Linked DNA regions of Homo sapiens: region 2 is linked to region 1. Evidence: promoter capture Hi-C in 16 types of primary human blood cells and fetal thymus (Javierre and others, 2016). All regions are on one chromosome and are shown on one strand. Each heading gives the region's core, a stretch centred on a gene start or on the middle of the fragment in contact. The rest is flanking DNA. Distances are from core to core; before and after follow the strand shown. Region 1 holds the start of BACH1-IT2 (BACH1 intronic transcript 2). Region 2 overlaps USP16 (ubiquitin specific peptidase 16).

What was found. Contacts are between HindIII fragments. The CHiCAGO score rates a contact against its expected background, and 5 or more counts as called.
Region 2: a fragment that was not itself captured here is called in contact with the fragment with the promoter of BACH1-IT2 in region 1 in 4 of 17 cell types (neutrophils, total B cells, monocytes and 1 more); the score reaches 21.9 in neutrophils.

What each region holds. Positions count from the first base shown.
Region 1 is chr21:29,369,924-29,374,439 of GRCh38, forward strand. It overlaps BACH1-IT2 (BACH1 intronic transcript 2), which reads left to right and starts at 2,578. Exons shown (of 2, transcript NR_046564.2): 1 at 2,578-2,640; 2 at 3,319-4,057. The HindIII fragment of the contact is 7,280 bases long and covers 1-4,516 here.
Region 2 is chr21:29,050,032-29,054,547 of GRCh38, forward strand. USP16 (ubiquitin specific peptidase 16) reads left to right here. Exons shown (of 18, transcript NM_006447.3): 16 at 61-147; 17 at 3,771-3,927; 18 at 4,035-4,457. The coding sequence ends at 4,156. Among named protein-coding and RNA genes, the nearest start is that of CCT8, 21 kb to the right of the region's middle. The HindIII fragment of the contact is 5,164 bases long and covers 1-4,516 here.

The DNA.
Region 1 (4,516 bases), core at 1,328-3,827:
TAATTAGTCCATCTGTGTTAGTCCATTCTCACACTGCTATGGAGAAATACCCGAGACTAGGTAATTTATAAAGAAAAGCGGTTTAATTGACTCACAGTTGTGTATTGCTGGGGAGGCCACAGGTAACTTACAATCATGGCGCAAGGTAAAGGAGAAGCAGGCACCTTCTTCACAAGGGTGGCAGGATAGAGTGCAAGCTGGGGAAATGCCAGATGCTTATAAAACCATGAGATATCGTGAGAACTCACTATCACAAGAACAGCTTGGGGGAACTGCACCCATGATCCAATTACCTCCACCTGGTCCTGACCTTGACACATGGGGATTATGGGGATTACAGTTCCTGGTGGGATTTGGGTGGGGACACAGAGCCAAACCATATCACTATCTCTCCCCCTCATCCCCTCTCTCTCTATTAAATCCCTTATTGGTTCTGTTTCTCTGGAAAACCCTGAATACAGTGGGAAAGAGGTAAACCTTTGTGGTTGTAAGCTACTGAGACTTTGGGGTTATTTGTTACTGTAGCATGATCTGGCCTATTCTAATTTATACAGTGGGATTTTTTTTTCCCCCACAAACACTAAGGAAGTAGCATGTGGAAGGCCAGACCTTCTGTTGCCATCAGTAGGGGGGTTTCTGTAGTCTGAGGACCTATGAGCCTTTTGGGTTACCTTTGACTTGCACTTGGGCTTTTATGTTGATGCCAAGCAGTATGTTTATACTTCTCTAAAATGTATTTTTCTCTATATAAATAGTGTTTTTGTTAACTCTCACCGGCTCCAGTCTCAACTTTTGCCTCTAATTTTTCCCATAATATTCACTAACTCTAGTGATAGCTGTCTATGCGCATTGTACTGAGACTAATTCAGAGAGTGGGTTGGATGAACTTTGGTTTGATTTGTACGTAATTGTTAAAAACTGTGTTTAAGAAAACAGTTGTACCCTTGGCAAAACCTGGAAGTCTCTATGTTAACAATTTTCCCAATTTTTGTTTTAGGAAGCCATTCTGCATATTATGTTTTTAAATAAAAGGATTTGACTTTGGGCTGACAATTTAGCATTTAACCACTGTCTCCGCACCAGTTCCACAAGAGCAGGGATTTAGATTAATTGGAAAAACCTCATTGGTTTCTGATGGAGGGGGCATTCATAGAAACAACCTACTGACAACTAAGGAGCTACTGCGATGGGATGGGCAGCCTGCAGCTTCACTCGGTGGGCAGCCTCCACAGGTACTTTAATTCCTCGCTCTTCTGGCCAGGCATCTCTTGGTAAAGGCAGGTAGAGGAAGCAAAGCAATTACCTAGATAATTAAGGAAAAACAAACCTGTATGTGGCAGGTAACTTGGGGAGCTGCTTCTGATTTTCTAGGCAACTATTTTCATTCTTCACTTCTCTGGTGTCAGCAGGAATCTGAGCTAGATCCCAAGAGCAACTCGAACAATTACAATGCTCTCAGTTGGCAAACCCGGCTTCATAGCAACTTCCCTCCTCATTGATCTAGAGTTTGAAATAGCTTTGTCAGATCTCGGGTGTGTTCCTGCTGATTTATGGCAAAATCCCAGTAACAGCTGTGAAAATGTTTGTCCATTTGTGAAACTTCAGAAAGCGGGTCTAGCAAATCATTCTCACCTGGTGATTCTGGGGCAAGGTGAGAACTGTACCCTCACAGGCCGGGTGAATAAGATTCTAGTTGCGGTGGAGGCCAAGGAAGAAGATGTACTATGAGTCAATCTCTCTATGAGGCATTTGCTGAACCTTCCCCTCCTACACCTTCCTACAAGGCAGGTCCGATGACTTTTACTTTACAGATGAGAAGATGGAGCCTCCACAAGGCACATAGCTGGTGAGTGACAAAACCAGAATTCAAACCCAGATCCATTTGATAGTGACATTTGTTTCCACTACCCTAGTGGCTCTGGGGGAAGCCAGGACACCCATATTTTTGTAAAGTCCCGTAGTTGTTTCTAGTGTCATCCGGGTTGGAAACTGTATATTAAGTCAGTGGTTCTCAAACTTTAGCATGCATTAGTATCCCCTGTTAGGCTTGTAAAAACACAGATTGCAGGCCCCACACTTAGATTTCTGACTTGGTAGGTAGGTCTGAGTTGGGAACCAGGAACTTGCCTTTCTAACAAGTTCCCAAGTGATGTTGATGCGGGGGCCTGGGCACTACACTATGGGAACCACCACCGCATTAAGGTGAACTCAGAGCTGAATCTGACATGAAAATCTGCATTAATGGAGATGACATCAGATATCTGCAAAGTCACTTAATAGAGAACGGTTGAGACTAAGTCTTGACTAATATTAAAACTAACACATCTAAAAAGACTATGTCCATCACAGGTGGGTGGTCAGAATAGAAACATTACATAATGGGAAAGAAAATGTAGCTGATGCTATTCATCTAGAAGGAAGAAGTGATGTAAGGGTCAGTTTCCACCTTTGCTTTGAATTCCTTGGACAGCAAGCAACCATATGAGCATTAATTTGATTTATGTTTTTCAGGTATCGTATCTGATTTCAGATACATATGATGGTCTCAAGTGTGTTTTTTACCACCACCACTTTGTAGGCCTGTTGATGCCACTGCTGTTGAAGTCTATGTGAATGGTGCCCCCTGGTGGAAGGAAAAAGGTAGTTTATTACAGTCCGTTGTAAATGAGTGACCTAGCGTTGTTATCATGCTCTGCTCCTAGAGACCACTCCACTCACCTTAAACTAGCGAGCCTGAGGACCGGTCCCGGGGACCCATGAGAACATGATCTCCGAGAGCCCTGCCCTTGAGAAAGGTTCTCCTCAGCAATACTCCAACTCACCCCAGACCTAAAATTTTTTTTTTTTTTTTTGGAGACAGAGTCTTGCTCTGTCGCCAGGCTGGAGTGCAGTGGCATGATCTTGGCTCACTGCAACCTTTGCCTCCTGGGTTCAAGCAATTCCCTTGTCTCAGCCTCCCGAGTAGCTGGGACTACAAGCGCACACCACCTCGCCTGGCTCATTTTTTGTATTTTAGTAGAGACGGGGGTTTCACCATGTTGGCCAGGATGGTTTCGATCTCCTGACCTTGTGATCTGCCAGCCTTAGCCTCCCAAAGTGCTGGGATTACAGGCGTGAGCCACCATGCACGGCCCTAAAATTCTTAAAACGTGAAAATGGGGGAAGATGGTTAACACATCCATATGCTATCATGATATATATCTTTCTTCTTAGTTGTATGGGATGAAATGATGCCAAGATTTTCCTTACAGAGTAGGGATTGTGACTGAAGCCTTTGGACAGGTATTTAGGCCCTTATGAGTGTCCCCTCTTGTCTAGAGAATGGGACGCCAGGAATGTCAGATGCTTTTCAGCCTCTCCCCTGCTCTCACGCCTAGAAACAAGAGCTCCACAAAGGTCTCTCATTCCTCAAGGCTGATGAAAAGCCCAGCAGCTAAATGGCCAGAAGCCTGTCTTTGTGAGAAAGCAAGAAGTCTCTCGGTTTGAACTCTTCGGTCTAGAGACAGATTCTTCTACCAGTGGTGTAAAACCCTAAAGAGGCTCTGCATAAGACCTACCACTGCTCTGTGTCTCATGACACCCTGCCCCCACCACTGGAAGGCCACACTTATTCTTTGTGTTCATGCTTCTCTATGATCTGCAAGTTTCCCAAGAACACCTGGATTCGAAGCTCAAGTCCACCGCTAAATAGCTATGTGACCTAATGTGTCAGATGGTTATAAGGATTACAGAGAAAGAGGTATAGATAGAGCTGGTAGCAGTGACAGACACATCTTTACATCATATAATTCTGACATGCATTATTATTGTAGTTTTCTGTTATTCAGACATACTTGTTAAGAAGGTGCTGGGGACAATTTGTACATGCTGGGTATGAAAGGGCTTGGAAAGTATTTCATGAATGGAGTTGGCATTGAGGAGTCCAATCCATGTACAATGGGTAGAATTAGAAAGGCATTGAGGATAGTGTATTAGTCTGTTTTCAAACTGCTGATAAAAACATACCTGAGAGTGGGTAATTTATAAAGAAAGAAGAGGTTTAATGGACTCACAGTTCCATGAGGCTGGGGAGGCTTCACAATCATGGCAGAAGGTGAAAGGCACATCTTACATGGCAGCAGGCAAGAGAGAATGAGAGCCAAGGAAAGGGGGAAACCCCTTACGAAACTGTCAGATCTTGTGAGACTTATTCACTACCTTGAGAACAGTATGGGGGAAACCGATTCAATTTTCTTTCACCGGGTCCCTCCCACAACACATGGGAATTATGGGAGCTACAATTCAAGATGAGATTTGGGTGGGGACACAGCCAAACCATATCAGGTGGTTACATAAGAGATCCAGTAGAGAGGTGGGAACTCCAGAGGAGATAACTCACCTGGAAAGTAGGCAATCAGGAATATAGGATCCCAGTATGATGAAAAAAAAGGGGCTGTGGGTATGGGAGGCATATCTCAGAGAGAAGAAACACTGCTGTTCATGCCTGTGAAACCCAAGGTTTCCCCTTCCTCTTAAG
Region 2 (4,516 bases), core at 716-3,215, 320 kb before region 1:
TTACTTAACCTGTATTGCTTTTCCAAGAAAAGAAGTCAATCTGTTATGCTTCTCTTTTAGGCTGGTTTTAACCTACGCAAAGTTAACAAACACATAAAGTTTCCGGAAATCTTAGATTTGGCTCCTTTTTGCACCCTTAAATGTAAGGTAAGTCAAAGTGGTCTTTTTCAGGAAAGTCCTTTAAAGTCAAATTGTGGCTTACCTAATGCTCCAGTAGCAACTCACTTAAGTATGAAGTTGATAACACTTATTGAGTAGAGTGGGTCTTTGATCATTGTACCTTTATAATTTGAAGATTAGTGATGAATCATTTTGAAGAATGGGTTATTTCAGTTCAACGTTTGGAATCCCCTTTATTATGGCATACATTGTCTTGTGAGCGGAGGGCATAAAACTAAAGGTGAGCAGATCTATTAATGAATAATCTGTTTAATGTGGTTGAATGTTAAGGCTGGTGAACATAGGTCAGGAGTGGTATACACTTAACCCAGCATGTTGGTGGTTCAGGAATGGCTTTGTAAAGTAAACCATGCCTCAACTATATTTAAAGAAGGAGTAAAAGTATGATGAATCAAGATGAAATGAGTTTTGCAGGCAGAAGGAACAGCAGGAGTAAAAACAGCAGTGTAAAATAGGATGGTGATTGCCAGAGACTGGTAACGTATGTAGTTCTAGAGTTTATAGTACAAGGTTATAGGGAGAGTTGAGAAATGAAGCCAGAGAAGTGAGATAGGAATGAAGTTTTGGAGGGTTCTCATGGTGAGGAACTTGGACTTCATTAGGTATACAGTGGGGAGCCCTGAGGAGTTTAAAGCACTGGGGTGGCATGGTCAGATCTTCATATGACGTAGGTTACTTGTTGATGTATGAAGGCTGAATTTTAGGACGGAAAGACTAGAGGTGGGGAAGTGAGTTTGGAGGCTGTTGTATTAATTCAGCCAGTAGTTGATGAGGGCTTAAAGTTGGGCAGGAGATGGGGAGATAGAAGGAATATTTCAGGAGGTAGAATTAACCAGACTTAATGATTGATTGGCACTGTAAGGTGAGGCAGAGGCCTTTTATAAGTGGATGCTGAGGGTGGCAGAGAAAGGGTTGAGGATGATTCCTGAGGCCTGGCACGACAGATGGGAGTGCTGTAAATTGAGATAGGATATATAGGGAGAAAAGCAGGTTGAGAAAAGCAGGTAGAGAAAGGATAATGACTTCAGTTTTAGATACATTTGAGTGTCAGATACCTTTGAGAAATTAATGTGCTTAGTCTAGAAAACATTTGGATATACATATCTGAGACCTATAGCAGAGAGGTTAGGATGGGCCCAGGGCACAGATTTAGAAATCAGTACATATGTGGCAGTTTAAACTATGAGAAGATGGGATCCCTTGTGTATAGAGTCTGAAGAGAGAAAAAGGAGATGGCCAATGACAGGACCCTCCTAAGTATCTGAGTGGAAGAGGCAGGGGTAGAAAGTGAGGACACCACAAAGGATCTCAAAGAATCTCCATGTTGAAGAATTTGGGGCTGGGCGTGGTGGCTTACGCCTGTAATGCCAACACTTTGGGAGGCCGAGGCGGGTGGATCACTTGAGGTGAGGAGTTCGAGACCAGCCTGGCCAGCATGGTGAAACCCTGTCTCTACTGAAAATACAAAAATTAGCCAGGCATGGTGGTGTGCGCCTGTAATCCCAGCTACTCGGGAGGCTGAGGCAGGAGAATTGCTGGAACCTGGGAGGCAGAGCTGCAGTGAGCCGAGATTGCGTCACTGCACTCCTGCCTAGGTGACAGAGCAAGAAACTCCCTCAAAAAAAAAAAAAAGTCTGGGCCAGTTGCTGTGATGGGCATAATGGAAGAGGCCGCTAAGGACAATTTATAAGATTATGGTCACATTGAGGACTATGACAAGGTACATGATCATTTATTATACTTTTGTTTCTTGGCAGTAGTGGCCATCTGGGTTTGGGGCATGGCAGGTACATTATAGGATTCAGGGTGAGGTTTTGTGATGAATTGGATATGGAGGAGATTATTTGTAAGTGATACATGTGATTGAAGTTCCCAAACTTTAATGTGTATGTGGGAATCAGACCTACAAATTTTGATTCTGTAGGTCTAGTATGGGATCAAAAATTCTGCATGTTTAATGTAAACTCTCAGGTGATGCTGATGCTGGCTGTTCATGGACCACATTTTGAATAGCAATGGTCTAGACTGCATATGGGAATTATATTATGTCAGTTTCCATGCTGCTGATAAAGATATACTGGACAAGATATACTGGGCAAGACTGGGCAATTTACAAAAGAAAGAGGTTTACAGTTCCACATGGCTGGGGAGGCCTCACAGTCATGGCGGAAGGCAAGGAGGAGCACGTCACATCTTACATGGATGGCAGCGGGCAAAGCAAGAGCTTGTGGAGGGAAACTCCCCCTTAAGAAACCATCAGCTCTCATGAGGCTTATTCACTATCAAGAATAAGGATGGGAAAGACCTGCTCCCATGATTCAGTTGCGTCCCAACGGGTACCCTCCCATGACATGTGGGAATTGTGGGAGCTACAACTCAAGATGAGATTTGGGTAGGGACACAGCCAAACCATATCAGGAATGAAGCCAAAAGTCTTCATAGGTGAGGAGAATATGAGCATTGGAGATCCTGTTAGGTTAAAGAGTACAGAATAGGTGAGATGAGAGTTGAATAAATAGAAGACTTGTGGACTAAGACTAAAAATAAGATTTATGTCCCTTCAGCTCAGGAGTTTGAGACCAGCCCAGGCAACATGCTGAAACCCCATCTCTACAAAAAATTAATTTAGCAGGTCATGGTGGTGTGCACCTGTAGTCCCAGCTATTCCAGAGGCTGAGGCGGGAGGATCACTTGAGCCCAGGAGGCAGAGGTTGCATTGAGCTGAGATCATGCCACTGCACTCCAGCCTGGGTGACGGAGTGAGACCCTGTCTCAAAAAAAATTTTATGAAGTTGAACAATTCTGAGTGATGACAAGCCCAGACTCTAGTCCTGGGTGTGGTTGACTAAAATGGAATGGCATTTAAAGTCCTGTGAGAATCATAGATGGACGGAGAAGTACTAAGTTCTTCAGTGAATATGGAGGCACAGATTGGGAAGCTGAGTATAGGAGACAGTACTACTGAAGGGCCGTGATGCCTGTTACGGACTTTTACATGAGAACATAAATAGTTGTCTGAAAAGTGGCTCCTGGCCCAGAGAATGCCTGTTCCTGTTGCCAGCCCTATGGCATATAGAGTCCTGAAAGAATAAGCAGCGTGCACTCTCTCGTGGGGAAAGTGAACACTTGAGAGGTTGAATGTGCTTCTCACCAACTCCCTTGGGGACATTTAAAGATGTAAGGGGTAATTTTTGGCACAACCTAAAATACTGTTCTCTTCCTGTTCAGGGCTTACCTTTTTTTAAACAGGGTATTCAGAGTTGTTAATAGCTAGGGTTGTTAAGAATTATCCTCAGGCTCCTAAAGAAACTGGCAAGTTGAATTCAGTTATTTGGTATCTGAGCCAGGTAACTGCATCAAGTGGCCTGTGGCTTACAGCTTTTCTACCAGGGGAACAATGGTGAATTTATAATAAAAACAGAAGTGTCTCAGGCTGAGAAGAGGTATGGAGAAAAGAGTAGACTCATGAATGATTTCTGCACTCTCAAAGTAATGGTTAAAGACCCTTTGCATAGTGTAAACTTGTCTTGCCCATGACATCTGTGTAAATGGAACTAGAACTAACTTTTGGATTCTACTCATTTTTAAAGAATGTTGCAGAAGAAAATACAAGGGTACTCTATTCCTTATATGGAGTTGTTGAACACAGTGGTACTATGAGGTCGGGGCATTACACTGCCTATGCCAAGGCAAGAACCGCAAATAGTCATCTCTCTAATCTTGTTCTTCACGGTGATATTCCACAAGGTAAGATGTCTTGGAAAATTCAGGCACTCAGCAGATTACGGCAAAACCAAAAAGTAATCAACTTGAATCTTTCCATTTATGTTTGATTTTTCATTTTCTCATGACAGATTTTGAAATGGAATCAAAAGGGCAGTGGTTTCACATCAGCGACACACATGTGCAAGCTGTGCCTACAACTAAAGTACTAAACTCACAAGCGTACCTCCTATTTTATGAGAGAATACTGTAATAATATCAAAAGCACTTTTTCTGGAAACACATTTATGGCTTTTATAATGGCTGAAATAACGATAAAAAAAGACTAATTAAAATCATGTTCACTTAACATTAAATACATGCCAGAAGAAATCATGTTTATTTAAATATTGAAGGGAAAAATACCTAAAAATGTACAAAGGTTTTATATTGTCATAGTGGTTTTTATTCCTGCTTTGTTTCTGGAAAGGAAATCCTGAATTACTTAAGTACTTTGTGTTTAATATATCTGGGTGATGGATCACAACACATCAATAAACTGACTTACCCTAAAATCTTGTTTTATTACTGGGAAGATTTTAACTTCTATTGACTTATCCTACTAGGTAACACT